2 separate regions of the Homo sapiens genome follow, and region 1 is linked to region 2. The links are contacts of gene promoters, found by promoter capture Hi-C in blood cells and fetal thymus (Javierre and others, 2016). All regions are on one chromosome and are shown on one strand. Each heading gives the region's core, a stretch centred on a gene start or on the middle of the fragment in contact. The rest is flanking DNA. Distances are from core to core; before and after follow the strand shown.

Region 1 (5,132 bases), core at 1,305-3,804, 1.2 Mb after region 2:
ATAAGGACAGAGGATGCTTGTAGTTGGCAGCCAACACAACTGGGACAGGTGGGTATACAGATGCTTTTTATAGAAGACATAGTTCCAAAACATAATTATGCCAGAAAAAGAATGATTGCAATATTTATATTCACTTTAGTAGAGATAAATTGACTTCCTTTTGTGATTGTTAAGTCATAACATGGTTCCATGAAGTCTTTGACTTTAGCCACATGTCTCATATGTTTTACAACTTTTTATGTGATTATAGGTTTGTAAAGTTGTTGGCCATTTCTTTTCTCTTCCTTCTTTTCTTTTCTTTCCTTTCTTTTTTTTTTTTGAGACAGAGATTCGCTGTGTTGCCCAGGCTTAAGTGATCCTCCCACCTCAGCCTCCCAAGTAGCTGGGAGTAGCTGGGACTGCAGGTGGGCGCCACCATGGCTGGCTAATTTTTGTTAGCATCAAGCGTTTTCTAAATGCTTGATTAAATCTAAATGGATATCTACTGTTTAATCTTCATGAGATGATAATTTGATTTGCAACAGCTTTTAAATTAGTTTATGTGTATGGGCTATGTGACATACCCTCAGATGCACAGTGGAATAGTAATTGTTTCTTCAAAGGATATGTGAATTCTTAGCTAAAAATGCTGAGATTGTTAAAGTATTAATTCCCTTTTCTTTAACTTAATACAAATTATCTTCAGTTGAAGTTTATGTAATATTACTGTTTGTTGGTTTTATCTTTAGAGTGAGATCCTCTGGAGACCTTATCTTCATACTTAGTTGTGAATAAAAGTCATGGCATGTAAAAATTTGCTGAACTGCAATATAAGAACTCTATTAAGATTACAGCTTAATGTTATTGCAAAATTAAAGAGAAACTGTTAGATGGAGTTGTACAATTAACATATTAGCATGTCTAATAGTTTTTTAATTTTTGTTTCCCTTTGTCAGTTCTCACACCCATTGAATAAAGAAAATCAGTTTTTGGCTAGGTGTGGTGGCTTACTCCTGTAATCCCACCACTTTAGGAGGCCGAAGCAGGCAGATCACTTGAGGTCAGGAGTTCAAGACCAGCTTGGCCAACATGGCAAAACCCCATCTCTACTAATACTATAAAAAGAATTAATCAGGTGTGGTGGCTCACACCTGTAATCCCAGCTACTCAGGAGGCTGAGGCAGGAGAATCTCTTGAACCCGGGAAGCAGAGGTTGTGAGCTGAGATCACACCACTGCACTCCAGCCTGGGCAACAGAGTGATATGTCTCAAAAAAAAAAAAAAAATCGGTTTCTCTAAGGCAGAAGAAGCCATCATGACTGCGATGGCAGAATATGCAGACATATTTAGGTAAATCAGTTTTGATTTCAGTACCATAACCCCCCTTCTGCAAAAGCTTATTCACATTGCACAGTTGCTTATAAACATTTTTTTATTTTGTTAATCATTAGATCCTCAATACTTCTTCAAAACTTTGCTGTTACTGATTAAGACATTTTCATGGCTTTTCTAAGAATTGAAATTTGAACACTTTTTTTGAGAAACTTAAATCACAGATGTTTCCATGAATAGTATTATTATTGTTTTATAAGAATGCCATGTTAACAAGCTATTCTTTCAAGATTTTTACTTCCAGGCCTGATGTAATATATGGTGTTAATTGTTGGGTGTACCTAGCATGCCCGTTAATTTATGGATGGAAATCTTTCCTGTCTTCAGATTCTACCCCCTTCATTTTTCATATGCCAGTGGATTGTTAATGAACTAAGATTGAATTCACTTTTTAATTTTAAAGCTTCTGTAGCTTTGATTCTCTTTGGACATCAAACTGATTTATACGAGATATGAATACAATTGCATATTCTGCTAAATTACCTATGAAGCTCTTTTGAATGATTGTGGTATTTGGTGAAAAAATACAGTATGAGCTAATCAAAATTCTTTTAAGGGATTTAGGTTATAGAGGAGGACTATACTATTTCATTCCCAGATTAGATTAAATGTTTTACTTATTTGCAGAGATGACAGGGGAGAGCCTTGATTATTTTCACGTCTCATGTATTTATATTTGTTTACAAATAAAGAGTTACTTATTTGCAAAATGCCGTATCTTTAATACTTGCTTACATGTGATTTTGGGAATTCTTTTGGAACCAGTTTTTGTTCTTGTTTTTGTTTTGCTCTAAGGGTATGATGTAACACATTGAGGGGTTAATAGTAGGGCAAGAACAGAGAAAGCCATTTGACAACAGATATCATCAGGACAGTGATGCTTACTTTAGGTCTTGTGGTTTTCTTGGCCTTGAGAAATCAAGATGTTAACTAAAAATAGGAGAGCATGGGCCAGGCACACTGGGAAAACAGATTGGTGTTTACATGCTACCGCTGTTGCTTCCTGGTAATTTGCCATATGAATGTGTGGGTATGGATTTGTAACAGACCTGTGATGTGAATATTCCTGAACCCCCTCCTCCCATACACACAGTACCATCATCACAGATCTGAAGCCTAACCTTTAGCTGAGTTCAGTGACTTCATGTTTCCGTATTGAAATGTTCTGTTATTGGGTCCTCACAATACTATAGAATGTAACATACTGCGGGCACGGTGGCTCACGCCTGTAATCTCAGCACTTTGGGAGGCCGAGGCGGGCGGATCACGAGGCCAGGAGATCGAGACCATCCTGGCGAACACGGTGAAACCCCGTCTCTACTAAAAATACAAAAAAATTAGCCGGGCCTCGTGGCAGGCGCCTGTAGTCCCAGCTACTCAGGAGGCTGAGGCAGGAGAATGGCATGAACCCGAGAGGCGGAGCTTGCAGTGAGCGGAGATCACACCACTGCACTCCAGCCTGGGCAACAGAGCGAGACTCCGTCTCAAAAAAAAAAAAAAAAAAAGACTATTAACTAAGAAAAACTTGGTTATAATAGTTTCACCACAGTGTTTCACCATAAAACAATGTTTTATGATATGTACCTCAGAAAAGAGTGTTGTGGGGCAGGGCAGTGAATTATATTTATATTTGTCTAAGTATTTTTTGGTAGTTTTTTTTTTTTAAAGATAGGGTCTCACTGTCTCCCAGGCTGGAATACAGTGGCGCGATCATGGCTTATGCAGCCTTGAACTCCTGGGCTCAAGCAGTCCTCCTGCCTCAGCTTTCTGAGTAGCTGGGACTATAGGCGTGTGCCACCACACCTGGCTAATTTTTTTAAATTTTTCTTTTGTAGAGATGGGGTATCAGCTATGTTGACCAGGCTGGTTTAGAGCTCCTGGCCTCGAGCAGTCCTCCCACCTCAGCCTCCCAAAGTGCTAGGATTACAGGTGTGAGTGTCTTAAATTTTTGAAGTGCATTTAGTTAAGCTTATGAGTTGTGGCAGAGGACAAGAGGTAGTAACATGAGTATCTGTTATCTTGATACTTGTTCTGTTGTCTTGAAATTTTTGACAGATAAATTCTAGTTGGAGGTGAGAACCATGGATTCTGCTAATTTAGGGCCTTCCTATAGGTTAACTGGTGTCACTGAGTTTTTGGAAATACTTGCAAATCTGTTTTAGTTTGGAACTTTGAGATTAAATGGAATTGATGTCAGTTCCATCAATATAATATTAGCATGAAAGCCAGAGATTTCCAAAACCATACATTAAAATTTGGCTGCAAATCCAATCCATTTTCACAATATTTAATGGAGTTTGAAGTCTTGAGCCAGTTTCTCATTTTCCATTATATTGATTAGATTTTGGATGTAGCATATTTATTTATTTATTTAGAGACAGAGTCTCACTTCGTTGCCGAAGCCTGGTGCAGTGGCGTGATGTCAGTTCATAGCAACCTTCGCCTCCCGGGTTCAAGCAATTCTCCCACCTCAGCCTCCCCAGTAGCTGGGATTACAGGCGCGTGCCACCATGCTCGGCTAATTTTTTGTGTTTTTAGTAGAGACGAGGTCTCACTATGTTGCTCAGGCTGGTTTTGAACTCCTCGGCTCAAGGCATCCACCCCCCTTGGCCTCCCAAAGTTGGGTTTACAGGCGTGAACCACCGCAGCCTGCCAGTGTAGCATATTTAAAAATAAAGATTTTACCAGCTGGGTGGGGTGACTCATGCATGTAATCCCAGCACTTTGGGAAGCTGAGGTGGGTGGATCCCTTGAGCCCAGGAGTTTGAGACCAGCCTGAGCAACATAGTGAGACCTCGTCTCTACTAAAAATACAAAAATTAGCCGGGTGTGGTGGTGTGCACCTATAGTCCCAGAACTCAGGAGGCTGAGGTGGGAGGATCACCTGAGCCCAGGAGGTCAAAGCTGCAGTAAGCTGTGATTGCGCCACTGCACTCCAGCCTGGGTAAAGAGTGAGGCCCTATCTTAAAAAAAAAAAAGGGTGGGCGTGATGGCTCACACCTGTAATCCTAGCACTTTGGGAGGCCAAGGTGGGTGGCTTACTTGAGGTCAGGAGTTCAAGACCACCCTGGCCAACATGGTGAAACCTTTTCTCTGCTAAAAGTACAAAAAAATTAGCTGGGCGTGGTGGCACGTACCTGTAATCCCAGCTGCTTGGGAGGCTGAGGCAGGAGAATTGCTTGATCCCAGGAGGCAGAGGTTGCAGTGAGCCGAGATTGCGCCATTATACTCCAGCCTGGGCTACAAGAGTGAAATGCTTTCTCAAACAAACAAACAAACAAAAAAGATTTTACCAAATTGATATGTTAAACTGCTAGCCTGGTTAGAATAAAAATTAGAATTTTAGATACTTAGCTTCTTTACTGGTTTGCTGTGGCATTGCAGCCAGGTCAGGAACCCTTTACCAAATTTATCACCAAAGTCCTATCATCGTGGAAAAATTTTTGGTATAACTGAGAATATAAAATGGACGGTAATATCTGTCAGATTCTTACTCATTGAGGGGAGACAGTTCTGGATTTGGTGTAGATAACTTGGTGCAGCCTGATAGTAGAAGTTAGTTTAAAGGCTATTTGGAACCAGAAAAAGATGTTATTTGGTATATATGACAACTTTTTTTGAGTGAAATTATAAGAGTTCACGGTTAGAGCAGCAAAAAAGTCCAAGAACTGAAGTGCAGCCAAGAGAATGATGATGTAACTGAGGAGGGAATTTAATTCTTTTAAAGATGCTGCCCTAAATTCTACTGCTCAGAAGTGGGA
Region 2 (5,310 bases), core at 1,822-4,321:
AGATGCCAGCCCTGTTTCTGATGCACCAGGGCTCTGCTGTGTGGGCAAGAGAGGTATCCAGCCTCAAGCCATTGTTCCTGCCTGCACCTTCCATCCTTGGCCAGAGGATGTCTGCCAGAGAGCCCAGCCCCTGTTGTCCCCCCCACCCCCACTCCAGGGTATCTGACTGCCCACATATCTCTATGGCAACCATCCTCAGACTCAAGGTACCCAGAGAGAAAGAAAACAAACAAGTCCAACTTTATAGGCAATGTACACGAACAGCAAGAGATGGAGCTGGATGGGAGTCAGCAATTAGTGCCCTACTAGAGGGATGGAGAGAGAGTCCCCAGTCAGGGAGTGGACACGGCCCTGCTAAACAGGTCCCAGAACAACTGCCAACACGACAGAAGCCCGTGGAATTGTAGAGCTTCTCTAAGCATTTGGGACATCTATTATGTCTCTTATCCCAGAGAAACCCGTGTCATTATTGGCCAAAGCCCATGTCTTCCCCAGGGCATGTGTCCTGGCTCCTAATATATTTATGGCATCCTACTGCCCAGCCCTAATTCCTTTCTCTGAGTTTCACAACCTTTGTCCCCCAGCTGCACCCTGCAGCCCTCCGAGATCTGACCTCTGTACTCACCAGACCTGTTCCCAGAGCACTTCACACATTGCTGGGTCTACACCTATCAGATGAGGTGAGTTTGGCAAGTACCCAATAGGAAGTTCAGAGAGTGTAGGTTCAAGGTGTGAAAGACAGGCCCTGACCCTCCAAGCCTCAGGTACTTGGGAGGATCTCGCAAGTGAGGCCCCAAGGCCTTGGCCTTTATGCTCCTCAGACTCGGAGGCAGTGCAGTTCCTGCCCAAACCGGGCCTTTGGGATTTCTAGACCATGAGGCATCACCCTCCACCCAGGACAGACTACATCTGCTGCTGCACCACCAACTTTGTAATTTGATCAAAAAAGCAATCAAGTTCATCTGGCAGAATTTGTTCCTGAGAAGCCCTCGCCAGTAGCAGCCTCCCCTGATGTTTACAGATTCCCTTCCCTTGGGAGTCTGTTCTGCCGCCTGGTGGGCAGGGGAGGCTGGCTTTGTCAGAGCTGCTCACTTACTGCATTTCCATCCTAAGTCACCACTGGGGCACAGGGACCAGGAAAGGCCTGCAGTAGCCACCACTGCCCCAAAGGGAGAGGCTCCAAATGCCCCAAATTAAGAGCTCCCCATTCTGTACCACCCACTACCCCCATATCCTCCACCTCCCTGAAGACCGAACTCCCTTGAGCCTTTGGGGGCCACTGCAGCTACTTGCATCTCTTCCTTCATTCTTTTGTACCTGGGCGCTTCCAGTCCCCCATGCAACTCCTTTTCTGGCTTCAGCCTGACACAAAGTCCAACCAGTCTGAAATTCCAACTCCTCTCCAAGTGCTAAAACGCACAACCCCCAATTCCTGGGGCTTCCTCAAAAGAAACCATGGCCCCTGGAGGCACCCTCAGGAAGAGGTCAAGACAGGGAACACTCACCCCGGGCAGACAACTTCTTGGTATTGATGATTTTTGCTGCGTACTCCTGCGTGGAGGTTTTCTTCACACACCTGCGGACCACAGAGAAAGCACCCCTGGAGGGAGAAGGGGAAAAGAACTGGGACACGGAGCAGGGCAGAGTGACACAGACACACTTCAAGTCTGGGGACGATGATGCTCCCACCACCAGACCTCTAGTCACACTCACGTACATGCACACACACCGGCGCTGTGACCACCACCATCCAACATGAGGCAAAAGGACGCGGCCACCGCAGGACACTGAACAGATGTGGGTGGCGTGCCGCGCTCCCACCCCCTCATCCAGTCCCTGGGCAAGGCAACAGCCTCCACCTCAGGCTGCACATCAGGAGCGGGTGGGCGATGCTGAAAACACACACCTGCTGCATCTCAGACAGCCCTGCGGTCCCGGCCAAGAGAACCAGGGCAGAAGGGAGCAGAGAGACCCTGCCCTTCTCTCAGCAGGAACAGTTGAAGGTCGGGGAAGGAAAGATTAAAAAGAGGGTATCATCCCCTGAAAGAGAAATCTCCCTCAACCATGGGGCAAAGTGAGGCTCAAACCCCCCCACAGCCGGTTTCATCTCACTGCATCCCGGCTCAACTGACAGCAAGGGAAGAGAGGACACAGTCAGACATCAAGAACTCCCCTTCCCATGCTATTTTCCTTGACGTCCCCGTCAAACGGGAGCTCGCACTCTGAGCTCTGGAAACGTCTGGGGGGGCGGGCGGGGCGGGGGCTGCAGTGGCCGGGCTCGGCGCCGCGGGTGGGGGTGGGGGGCCGGGGCTGCTGCAGCGGCCAGCTCAGTGCGGAGGGGAGGGGGATGCTGAGGCTGCGGCGCGGCTCCCGGGACCACTGCAGGGGTGGGGGGAGGGGACGGGGGTGCCGCAGCACTGCCCAGCCGCGGGGCTGGGAGCCTGGAGCGGCACCCGCGGGGGGCGGGGCCGGGCGCCAAACAGCCCCCCCACGCCCGGGCTCCGCAGCAGAGCTAGGGCTGCAGGGCTGGGGAGGGTCCTGAGTGCGAGGCGCGTGGGACCTGGGTTCAGGGTGCGGAGTGAGCAACCGGGCAGCGTTGGGAGGTGGTCGGGAGGGGGGCGCCTGAAGGGTGCGGAGGGGCGGGGCTGGAGGGCACCCGGGAGCGGTCCGGGGTCTGCGGTGTCCGCGGCGGCGCGTGGGGAGCAGCGGCCCCGCCAGTTGCTGCAGGGCGCGGAGGGGGATGCGGGGCAGTGCGCGGGGGGCGCGGGGACCGAAGGCGGCGGGCGGGAAAGGCGGGGGTGGGGCGGCCGAGGGGGAGCCGCAGCGGCCGGTGCAGGGCCGGGGGGCGGGGCGAGAAGCCGCATAGCTCCCGGGCGGCAGGGCAGGCAGGGGACCGCGGCGGGCGGGCCGTACTTGCCAAGCTCCTCGAAGAGCTGGTAGTCGTCGGTGAAACGGGTGCAGGTGGCGGTGGTGGCCATGCTGGCGGGCGGGCGGACGCGGCGGTGCAGCCCGCGCCGACGTCGGTGCACAGTCACCGCCGCCCGGCCGAGGGAGCAAGAGGAGGAGACGGGGCTGAGCCCGGCAGCACCGCGAGACTTTACCGGGGAGAGCGAGGGAGGGAGGGACACCCCCGCGCCGCCCGCCCCGCCCCGCCCCCAGGCCCCGCCAGTCCCCCCCCCCGCCCGGCCCCCGGCCCGCCCCCGGGGAGGGGCCTCCCGCCGCCGGCCCCGCCCCGCCCCGGAGCCGCCCTCGCTGGGCCAGGCGCGCGGGGCAGCCGAGGGGAGGGGGTCCCCGCTCCGGGCCACCTGTCTGGGCAGACGGAGCTGGAAGGTTCGCGACTTATGGGCTTGTCCCGGGGCGGACCCCGCGCGGGCTCGGGAACGTGCATGCGAGGGTGCATGTGTTAGGAGTGTAGGAGTCTGGACCACTGACCTCTCTGGACGGGTCCTACACGCGGGTCCCGAGCCCCCAACCGGGCTCCTAGCACGTGGGGAGAGAGCCAAGGTCAAGGAGCCTGTGCCAGGCTGCACGCCCGGGAGGCGCCCCCAGCCTGCGCAGAGCCAGCTGCCAGCCGCCTTCCCTCTGGGAGCTGACAGTCTAGACTTGCGCAAGCACCAGGGCCATTATTAGAAAGAAACCCTTCAGGCGCGGGTTGATCAGGGAGACCAGGCCAGGGGCAAGGATACAGGTAGGACTCTGCCTTCCTGCACCATAACTGCAGAGATGAAAGAGTATTCTCTATCCGGCCAGAAATGAAAGGGGTGAAGTAGGAAGACTTGAAAAGGCTTTGTGCAGTGGGGGCTAGAAGAGAAAGTGGAAGAAAGGGGAAATCCCCATTTTCTTGCAAGGCACCCTCGTACTTTTATTTTCTGGCACCTACCACATTTTGTAGTGATGCATTGACTGGTATAAGGGGCAGTAGAGCTATCTCATAGCTGTCTAAGCGTGAACTTGCATCAAACTGCCTGGATTGGATTTCTAGGCAACTCACTGATCAGCTCTGTGACCTGGGGTAAGTCACTGAATCTTTTTTTTGAGACGGAGTCTTGCGCTGTTGCCCGGGCTGGAGTGCAGTGGTGCGATCTTGGCTCACTGCAGCCTCCACCTCCTGGGTTCAAGCGATTCTCCTGCCTCAGCCTCCCGAGTAGCTGGGATTATGGGCGCGCGCCACCACGCTCGGCTAATTTTTTTGTATTTTTAGTACAGACGGGGCTTCATTATGTTGTAGTAATGAAGTATGTATGTAGTACATACATGAAGTAATGAAGTATGTATGTAGTACAGAGGTGGCTTCATGAGCCACCTCGCCCGGCTGGGAACAATAATATTACCTACCTCATAGGCCTGTCAGCATTAAATGGTCTAAGGCACTTAGAATAGTACTTGGTGCCTAATTAGAACTACATTTGCTGGGCCGGGCGTGGTGGCTCATACCTGTAATCCCAGCACTTTGGGAGGCTGAGGCGGGTGGATCATGAGGTCAGGAGTTCGAGACCAGCCTGGCCAACATGGTGAAATCCTGTCTCTACTAAAAATACAAAAACTAGCTTCCCGCTGAATTGTAGGCTCCAATAAAGCGGGGCCTCTGCACCTTTTGTTCACCATTGTACACTCAGCCCCTGACCCTCAGTAAATATTTGTGGGATGGCAGAGGGAGATACCATCCCTTCTCCTGTCCCCACCATCACAAGTTGGTGGGACAGAGGCACATAACTGTCTTGATGGGGGACAAACAGGCTGGGCAGGTTCCTGACCTGCCTGGGCAGCTGTCCCCTGAGGCTGAGGCCAGCCCCAACTGGGCAGGGTGGAGCTCAGCCAGAGGCTGCCACTCAGTCTTGATTACAGCAGGACGCCCACTGGGAGTCGGGTCTCCCTCGCCAGCAGGCTCGCTCTGCCAGAGGAGGGGGCTGAGAGGTGTCCCAGCCTCCCAAGCTGCCTCCCTGAGGGGTGGGTGGGGCAGAGCTCTCCAGGAGTGCTCCCCTCCTGTCCTGACCCAACAGCCCTGAGAGCTGCTTTGGGAACCAGACTGCCCAGTAGGGGTGATTAGGGAATGGGAGGGCATGAAGCCCTAAAGGAAAAGCATTAGCAGTTCTCTTGGGAGAAGGGTAGAGAGGGCCAAGGGAAAGGGTAGCAGTGCCAGAGCACCATGCCCTACCCCTCCCCAGGGCAACAGGAGGTAAAGTGGAGAGTAAGGCCACTTCCTATCTCAAAGCACCTGGGTGAGAGCCAGGTCCCAAGTCCCAGTGTGGGGTAGGGCAATGAGATTGCATACATGGGGATGCCAGTAAGTGTTGAGTTTCTGTCATCCAT

What was found. Contacts are between HindIII fragments. The CHiCAGO score rates a contact against its expected background, and 5 or more counts as called.
Region 1: a contact is called between a fragment that was not itself captured here and the fragment with the promoter of CAMK2G in region 2, in 1 of 17 cell types (fetal thymus). The highest score is 6.4, in fetal thymus.

What each region holds. Positions count from the first base shown.
Region 1 is chr10:75,113,084-75,118,215 of GRCh38, forward strand. All of the region lies in intron 1 of SAMD8 (sterile alpha motif domain containing 8), which reads left to right. Among named protein-coding and RNA genes, the nearest start is that of SAMD8, 4.0 kb to the left of the region's middle. The HindIII fragment of the contact is 1,565 bases long and covers 1,773-3,337 here.
Region 2 is chr10:73,871,484-73,876,793 of GRCh38, forward strand. CAMK2G (calcium/calmodulin dependent protein kinase II gamma) reads right to left here and starts at 3,072. Exons shown (of 23, transcript NM_001367534.1): 1 at 2,914-3,072; 2 at 1,506-1,600. The coding sequence starts at 2,978. RefSeq lists silencers at 2,465-2,524, 2,785-2,954, 3,015-3,174, 3,185-3,464 and an enhancer at 3,685-3,794. The HindIII fragment of the contact is 9,701 bases long and covers 1-5,310 here.